3 separate regions of the Homo sapiens genome follow, and regions 1 and 3 are each linked to region 2. Evidence: promoter capture Hi-C in 16 types of primary human blood cells and fetal thymus (Javierre and others, 2016). All regions are on one chromosome and are shown on one strand. The core of a region is centred on a gene start or on the middle of the fragment in contact, and the rest is flanking DNA. Distances in the headings are between cores, read along the strand shown.

Evidence for each region. The method cuts DNA at HindIII sites, captures the fragments that hold promoters and counts their contacts. A CHiCAGO score of 5 or more calls a contact.
Region 1: a contact is called between the fragment with the promoter of SLC35B4 here and the fragment with the promoter of SND1 in region 2, in 1 of 17 cell types (non-activated CD4 T cells). The highest score is 6.7, in non-activated CD4 T cells.
Region 3: a contact is called between the fragment with the promoter of AKR1B1 here and the fragment with the promoter of SND1 in region 2, in 1 of 17 cell types (total B cells). The highest score is 8.0, in total B cells.

What each region holds. Positions count from the first base shown.
Region 1 is chr7:134,315,483-134,318,353 of GRCh38, forward strand. SLC35B4 (solute carrier family 35 member B4) reads right to left here and starts at 1,448. Exons shown (of 10, transcript NM_032826.5): 1 at 1,193-1,448. The coding sequence starts at 1,269. RefSeq lists a silencer at 989-1,158 and an enhancer at 1,239-1,968. The HindIII fragment of the contact is 10,331 bases long and covers 1-2,871 here.
Region 2 is chr7:127,650,768-127,653,626 of GRCh38, forward strand. It overlaps SND1 (staphylococcal nuclease and tudor domain containing 1), which reads left to right and starts at 1,427. Exons shown (of 24, transcript NM_014390.4): 1 at 1,427-1,684. The coding sequence starts at 1,607. SND1-DT (SND1 divergent transcript) reads right to left here and starts at 1,065. Exons shown (of 2, transcript NR_186577.1): 1 at 906-1,065. RefSeq lists a silencer at 976-1,225 and enhancers at 1,023-1,641, 1,466-1,645. The HindIII fragment of the contact is 9,151 bases long and covers 1-2,859 here.
Region 3 is chr7:134,457,843-134,460,542 of GRCh38, forward strand. AKR1B1 (aldo-keto reductase family 1 member B) reads right to left here and starts at 1,258. Exons shown (of 10, transcript NM_001628.4): 1 at 1,155-1,258. The coding sequence starts at 1,220. RefSeq lists a silencer at 868-1,057. The HindIII fragment of the contact is 6,251 bases long and covers 1-2,700 here.

The DNA of each region.
Region 1 (2,871 bases), core at 198-2,697, 6.7 Mb after region 2:
ACTTTAATTCATGTACAAATTATTAAAAATATTGTATACAATTACCTTCAAGCTAAGGTTATGTGTATAAGGTGTATAAGAAACACAAATGAGTTTGTGTTTAGATTTGGGTACCATCCGTAAAATATCTCATTATGTATATGCAAATACTCCCAAATCCAAAAAAAAAACAAAAAACAAAAAACACCAAATAACACCCGTTCCCAAGCATTTCAAATGAAGGATACTCAACTTGTAATGTATAGATTCAGAAACACGAGCTAGAGAACACTATAGGTATTGTTTTACTGCCAGGAAAAGGAGCCCAAGAGAGGCTAAGTGACTTGAAGGGCTACACAGCCAGTGGACGACGGAGCCAAGAGTGAAATTCACAACCCAGCTTTTTAGTCCTGGAGGCTTTTCCACACCACCTGTTGTCTCTTCTGTTATAGCTTCTATCCACTGAACTTTGCACATTCAAAGTGACCTCAAAGAGCCCTCTCAGGTCACTTGGACCAATCTTCTACTTGCTTTTTTTTTTGTCTTTTTGCAAGCCACCTCAAAGAGCACTCTCGGGTCACGTGGACTGATCTTCTACATAAAAATCTGTTCTACCGCATCATTTATGTATGTTTGGGCAAAGTACTCATAACCATTTCCAAGGCCAATAAAGCAAATGCTTTGCAGGATGCCGTAATAAAAATAAAACTTTCTTTGCAGTATGTACAAAGTCAGACTGCTTTACAAGTCAAAAACCTTTGCTCAAGTCCAGCCTGTGCCATTTAACAGGATCGAAAAAAGAGCTAGAGTTGGATGGGAAGGAAGAGAGAGTGGTTTGGTGAAGGAACCTTGGTTCTGACACTAGCTCTCTGCCGACCTTGGACTGGTCATGTGAAAAACTCTTCAGACTTCAATACCCCCCGAGTGTGGAAAAGGGGTGACGACAGCAACACCCTGAGTCTTCCCCTCGCAGGAATGCTTTGAAACTGTTAGGCGGGACTGCCGCCGGTGCGCAGTTTTGGGAAGCAGCGGACTCAGCGGGGTCCCAGGCTGCCCAGACAGGACGGATTGCTGGGGGGCTCAGGCCGTCCTGCCCCGGGCTCCGTGGGCGGCGGGGTGGGGACAGGGCGTGGGCGCGTCCCGGGGGGACCTCTCCTCTGGCTTCCTCCGCCCCGCCCCGGGAGACCGGGTGCGGCCCGAGCGGGTCACTCACCGGGCCAGGAGCTCTAGGAAGATCACGTTACTGCAGCAGCCTGCGAACACCAGGCCCACCGCCAAGGCCGGGCGCATGGCCGGTGCAGGGTTGGGGAAGCAAGCGCACAGAGTAAGCGCCCGCCTGTACCGCTACCCCAGGAAGCCGGCCTCCTGCCTCTTCGCTGCGCAGCACATCGCACCGTCCTGGAAAGCCGCTCTCACTGGGGGCCGCCGCGGTCTCCCCTTCTCCCGCGGCCAACACCGACGCTGCCAAGAAGCTGTAGTTCGCAGTCAGCTTCGGTCCCATTCATCCGAGGGGGCGTCCGAGCCCCGGCCAGACTACATGTCCCAGGATGCCGTGCACCTTTACCTCAGGATGCGACGTTCCCGCTTCCGCCAGGCAGCTCCGCCAGAGAGGACAGGGGGACGAGGTGCCCGGCATGACTCGCGCGATAGGCGGCCGCGGGTCTTGCTGGGAAATGAAGTCCCAAAGCGTCAGTGTTTCTTGCGAGACCGCCCAGAGCGCTGAAAGTAACTCGGCCGCCAGGGTCACAACAAACTTGCTGGCAGCGGCGGCACTAGAACTACAGAGCTGTGACTGCTCGTTGGAGGTGTTCTAGCATCTGAAACAACTCTGCTTCCTGAACTGATATATATATATGTATCTTTGGTGACTCTATTATGCTGCCAGGATTAAGAACCACTGAGAATTCAAGTAAAGCAATGGCTCTCAACCACGTCTGTACATTGGAATCACTTGGAGAGCTTTAAAGATGACTGATAGCCAAGTCCCACCCCCAGCGATTCTGATTTAATTAGGCTGAGGTGCAGCCTTAAAGGTGATCTATTGATATTATCCCTAATCCTAGCTCTTTAAGGTACTCCCTTCCTTTACCTCCGTGGTTCTCAAACTTAGCTGCGCAGTCAAATCACCTGGGGGCTTTGAAAACTGCCAACGTCCAGGCTCTTCTACTGGCAAAAATGCCAATATCAGCAATCAGATCTTTAATGGTGAAAAGAAGGCATACTTCCCTCTTCTTACAGTGGAATTCTCATAGCACTTACAATCTGAGCCATTCGACTTGACTCTTACTTACTCAATGAACAAATGTTTGTTAAGCACATATTACGTACATAAGCTAGTGCGGCACTATTCTTTATTTGTAAAATAGGTATGCACACTTTATCCACCCAGCAAGACTAGTTTTTAAGGGAAACGTGTTTACACTTCCTTTCTGCTTCCCAGTGTCTACTATAAAAGGTTAGCATCACTGCTCAGTATTTTACCACATCAAATATTTCCGTTGTAATTGAATCCAACAGCAATAGCAAAGTACACGGTACAAAGCTAGGTAGGATTTTGGAATGCTATATTGTTTTTGCTATTTCCTGTGAGACACGAACATTCTGAAGTCTTTCTCGAGATCTACAAAATAGTTTGGAATGCTTTTTTCCCAGTCCGTGACTGGGAGATCACATTGGAATCATCTGAAGTACTCGTTATCGAGTGCAGATTATTGGGTCTCGCTTTAGACCTACCAAGTCAAAATCCTTGTGTATGGGTTCTAGAAACTTGTATTTTTAACAAGCACTCCACGTTCTAATTCTAATGCATTCTAGAATTTGAGAACTGCTGCCTTAAAAAGGTGAGTAGGAAGAAGAACTAACATAAATAGAAAGCCTACTACCTGTGAAATT
Region 2 (2,859 bases), core at 177-2,676:
AAGAAGGTGACCTCAAAACTTAACCCTGGGATATGTTTAGTGTGGGAGAATAAACTTACAATCTTTTAAGAGAGCAAGGGGCCATGCACTGTGGTTAATGCATGTAATACCAGCACTTTAGGAGGCCGAGGTAGGAGTATAGCTTGAGCCCAGGAGACCAGCCTGGGCAACATAGTGAAATCTCAGCTCTACAAAAAAAAAATTAGCTGGGCGTGGTAGCGCGGACCCGTGGTACCAGCTCCAGCTACACCGGAGACTGAGGCAGGAGGATCGCTTGAGCCTGGGAGTGTCAAGGCTGCAGTGAGCCGTGATCGTGCCCCCGCACTCCAGCCTGAGCGACAGAGCGAGACTTTGTCTCAAAAAAGCCACAAAACCAAAGAAACAAAAAGAACTGCAAGGGAAGTACTGTCTTCAGTGTAGAGCCAAGTTTTACGATTAAATGACATAACACATGCAAGGTCCTTGGTTCCACATAGTGGGCACTCAACGAATATTAGTTCTCGCTAAACAGTCACTTAAATATTTGTAGGCCTTGGCTTTCCCGTTCCTTCCCCGACCTTTTTACTGGGGCTAGGGAAGGTATCCGGTGGCTGGAGGCGCTTCACACTGGGTCGGGTGAGAGCGTGAAGCGAGCCTTTTCCCTAACGTCACGGGAGCAGCTGGGAAGAGACCGAAGAACGAGGGTCACTCTCCCCTGTATACGTGGCATGTCCTTCCTCTGAGACATTTATTCCTCCCACCAACAAACATTAATGGAACGCCTCACAAGTGCTAGACCCCAGCGACACAAACAAGGGCGAGGCACACTCTCTGACTACAAAAAGGGCGCGCGGCCGCGTGGCAGGTCAAAGCCCACATCGGTAGGAGGTTCCACAAAGCTCTGATTTTCCAAGTTCTCTCCATACTTTTAGCCAAGGTAAAATGTCGGAAGTCGAGTGGAGCGGGTACGGAGATTCCTCCAGGACTCTGCCTGCGTGGCTCCACCCTCCCAGGCCGCATTCCCGGGTACAGCGGCGCCCACCTAGGTGGGTATACAAGTGTGCGCCCCTGAGGCCAGCGGGGAAGGACGTCATGGGCGAGGTCAGGCGGGAGGGCGCGGCTGGCTCCGCCCCTGGGGCTCCCATGGCCCCCCGCGCCCCGCGGCCAGATGCTGACGTGTCCTTTCCTTCCCACTACACCTCCCGACATTACCTACTCCGGCTGCCCCGGAAGTCCCGCCCCATATTTAGCCCATCCTTGCAAATCAACTCTTTCAGCGCTTCCTGGAACTCACCACCGTTTTGGGGACCAAGAGGCGGGGCTCCGCGAGCAGGGTGCCTATTGGCCTGAGGGCCGGCGGGCTCTGGGCGCTAATTGGGCGGAGGGCGGTGGCGCTCTGGCACGCTTGCGCGGCGAGTAGAACGTGTGGCGGCGGCGGAGATCGCGTCTCTTTCGCTCCGTGTCCCGCTGCTGCTCCTGTGAGCGCCCGGCGAGTCCGTCCCGTCCACCGTCCGCAGCTGGTAGCCAGCCTGCCCCTCGCCTCGACTCCCTTTCACCAACACCGACACCCACATTGACACCTCCAGTCCGGCCAGCCGCTCCACTCGTTGCCTTTGCATCTCCACACATGGCGTCCTCCGCGCAGAGCGGCGGCTCCTCCGGGGGACCCGCGGTCCCCACCGTGCAGCGGGGCATCATCAAGATGGTGAGAACGGGCCCCGGACACCGACCCCTCTGCCTGCCTTCGGGCGGGAGTCAGGCATTGACTCCACCTTCCGCCAGCCTGCTCCATGTCCCAGATCCCCTTTCCTCTGCCCCCTTCCTCACTTTTCGTCGATTCTCCGAATCCTCTCACTAGACGGAAGCAGACACGGAGTCCCCTTGTTCCTTGCCTCCCGGACACCTTGACATCAGGGGTCACAGTGATTTCCGAGGTTGCGGCATTCGGATCTCCTGTCTGTTTACCAGGACAGATCGATTACTGATTGATTAACAGAGACAATTCGTTGATATCTGTCCTCCCATCCCCCGTCTTTCTGTTCATTTTGACATATGCTGAGTAGTTAGTAGTTTTTCGAGATCCTGACATCGGCTCTTCTCTACTAGTACTTGGCCATCATGAAACTTTTCTGTTCCCACAAACGCTGTTACTTGACTCCCAAGTTTTCTCACTCTGTGGCCCTCTTTTCCTCTCTTTCCCTCCACCTCTTGTGTCGACCTGAAAGCTCCTGATCTTTGTGTACTTTTGACTTCTAAAAGGTTAGGCCGGCAAGAATCTTAGTAATCATCATTGTTCTCCCGTCCCTTAAAGATAAGGAGATAGGCTTGAAGAAGGCAAGTGACTTGCTTAAGGTCACATGGTGGTTTGGGTTGGAGCCATAGCAAGAGCCCAAGTGTTCGGATTCCTGGTCTAGTGCTCATAGCACTATAGATTCTGCCTGATTTTATATACCCTCAACTTTTTGAAAATTCTTCAATTTTGAATTTGAACCTGCAAAGTTTATTTTTACAATTTACTCCTAGCTCCATGATAATTTGATAATATAAATTCAGTTTATCACTTGCCCCCAGTTGTCCTCCCCAAAACCCTTCCAAATCTTGGAACCTGACATTTCTTGGTTTTACCAATTTTCTGGTTTATGATGACTGTAAACTTCTAGATGTCGTTTCATACTGCAGTTCTGACATTTGTATCTGCAACAGCAAATATCTTTTGTGATACTTTCTCCCAAGGCTCCACAAGTTTTGCTGTTGTAGAAAGTTTTGAAAAATTCTATTTTAGGCCTGGTGCGGTGGCTCATGGTGGTAATCCCAGCACTTAGGAGGCCGAGGTGGGAGGATTGCTTGAGGCCAGGAGTTGGAGATCAGCCTGGGCAACAT
Region 3 (2,700 bases), core at 8-2,507, 6.8 Mb after region 2:
AAAAAAGATTAGCCAGGTGTGGTGGTGAGCGCCTGTAGTCCCAGCTACCCGCAGTGCTGAGGCAGGAGGATCACTTGAGCCCAGGAGTTCCAGGCTGCAATGAACCATGATTGTGCCACTGCACCCCAGCTTGGGCAACGAGACCCTGTCACAAACAAACAAGCAAACAACAAAAACAGAAACTGAGAAACCCAGGTTATGGCTGTGGAATATAATATGCAATACTTAGAAGGTTAAAAATTCTAGGTTTTGCCTCAGCTCCCATACCACCACCTTTGTTGCTCAATTTTCAGATAATCAGGCTCAGGCTATTATTTTTGGTTTTTCATATCATATTATCATTTTTCATATCCTATGATGTTTCATGTCCTATTGTCATTCTCATCCGGCTAGGCACTTCTCGGGGACGCTGTGTGGTGTTGAGGTTTTACAGGGAAAATGCTAACCTTGGCGCCTCCTGAATTATCAACTAGCTACGGGGTGCCCAGATTTTTCTCCCGAGTTCCAGACCCAGGGCACCCCGAGGCGGCGCCTGGCCGAGGAGCTCCGCACTGCGCCTTGTTAACAGCTGGGTCCGGGCAAACTCGCGCCACCTAATTCTCTGCCCTCTACCGGCTTGAGATGCTTATTCCTCAGGGAGGGCAAGAATCGAAACGATTGAGACCAACTATTTACAAGTGAGGCAACCGGGCTACAGGTGCCTCGAGGGAAAGGAGGCTGGGTCTGCGCTCCCACACCTTGCCGACGGCTCCACGTCCCTGTCTGCGCCCGAGGTCCACCGGTCTGTGAAGCCCACTTTCCCCGCCTCCCTCTCGCGTTGTGCCGCTTGGGGCGCCCGCTAGGACCCAAAATGCGGACTGGTGGGCCGCCCATCAAGGGTTGCCCGCGGTAGGGCGGGGGCTCCCGTGAGCTGCTCCCAAACCCCACTCGCAGGATGCTGCCCTGACGCCCAGGGCCAACCCGGGGAGCCAAGGCCCCCGGTCTCTGCAAGGCCGACCCCAGCCCGCTGGGGACCCTGCAAGCCCGCGCGTGGCTCCCAGCACGCCGGGCGTCCGCGGGGCGAGCTGCTCAGGGTCACTCGGGGTCCCTCGCCAATACAGGCCGCGCGGAGAGTGTGAGGCGAGCCCCGGGCCCGCGCCCCCACGAGCACCTACCTTCCAGGTACCCAACCCCAGGATGGGCATCTTGGCGCCGTTGTTGAGCAGGAGACGGCTTGCCATGGCTGCTGCGCTCCCCAGACCCCCGCCCAGTACGGTGCGGCCTTGGCCGCGGCGCGTACCTTTAAATAGCCCGTGAGGTCGGCAGAAAGGGCGCCTGCGGTTGGCGCGCCGCTGCGCGAAGGAGCCTTCTGATTGGTTGCGCTGGGGGTGCCGCGGCGGCCTTCCCCAAGGGTCGGCGGGGATGCTTCTTCCGCCTGGTCCTAGTGGCAGCGGATTCTTTCCGCCCCCAACGCTCGCCCGCGCCCCGCGTGGCAGAAAGGAGTTCCTCAGCTGCTGTATCTGGTGGGAAAGCGAATGCTTTAGCGAAAATAACAGGCATCCCATAAATACATAGACTAGAAATAAGTTTTGGTTTCATTAAGAGCCCAGAAGAATGCCTTTGTTGTCCAACCCCAGTTTGATGCTCTTTGGGAATCTGACGAATACCTTGTCCTTAATCTATGTGAATCATACTGACTACACATATAGTTTACCGCACTTTGTTCTTAGACAAAGGTGCATGCCAGAAAAATGGCTTGCAATCCTTTTGCAAAGCACCTTCACAAAATATGGGTTTGCCCAGACTTTTTGTAGCCTTCTAGATCTCTCTTTGCACCCCACTCTAGGTGTTAGCTGTGTCTGTGCATACTAGGTGTGGTTCAGCAAGCCTTCCACCAAAAGCCAGCATCCTTTGATGTTCTTGAGGTTAGAAAGCCTTGATGGGCTTGATCCAGAACTCTCAGAAGAATTTGGAAAGTAAGGCTGTCCATTCAGAATCAGTAAGACAAATTTCATCAGTCTTTGGAAAGTGAGACTCTATCAAAGCAGTAAGTTCCAGTACAGTAACTTATCAAAACTCTCTAGAGGAAGAAAAGTGAACAGACAGAAAACCACAGAAGAAAAAGTTGACTCTAATATTGTAGCTTCCAGTATTTCAAATTAGAAGGTACAAAATAGTAAATTGATCACCCTAATTGGCAGGTAGAAACACACATTTTTCCAAGATAGCCTAAGAAAAGTCACTTGAAGATCCTTGAAGACAATTTTGGTTTCTTTCCAACAACCTCTCTTCATGATACTCTACCTCACCCCAACTGCTCTTTCTGCTCCATCACCCTCCGATCTTTCCCCTAATTATGCAAGATTGGGAACTCCATCTGCCTGGTAGTGACTCAAGCACCAGGTCTCTCTAAACTCCATGCCGGTGATTTTCCATTTGGTGCTTTCTTTAAAAGTGCTCCCTCCTGGAAAAATTTATACAGAACAGACTAGCCCAGATATTTTTCCATGTAACTTTTGTAAAAATTGTTGCTATTGGGCAAATTCATTTGTCCCCAAGTAATAGAATTTGAACTTGAGCCTAAAGCTGGGAACTTGCTTTGTGTAAAACAGCAAGTTCCTTCCTCCATGAGAGTCCTCTTGACTTGGAGGTTGCTCTGCCAATTGAACCTCCTGGGTCCAAATCCAAAGAGCTAATCTCTTGTGAAAATGATACACCTTG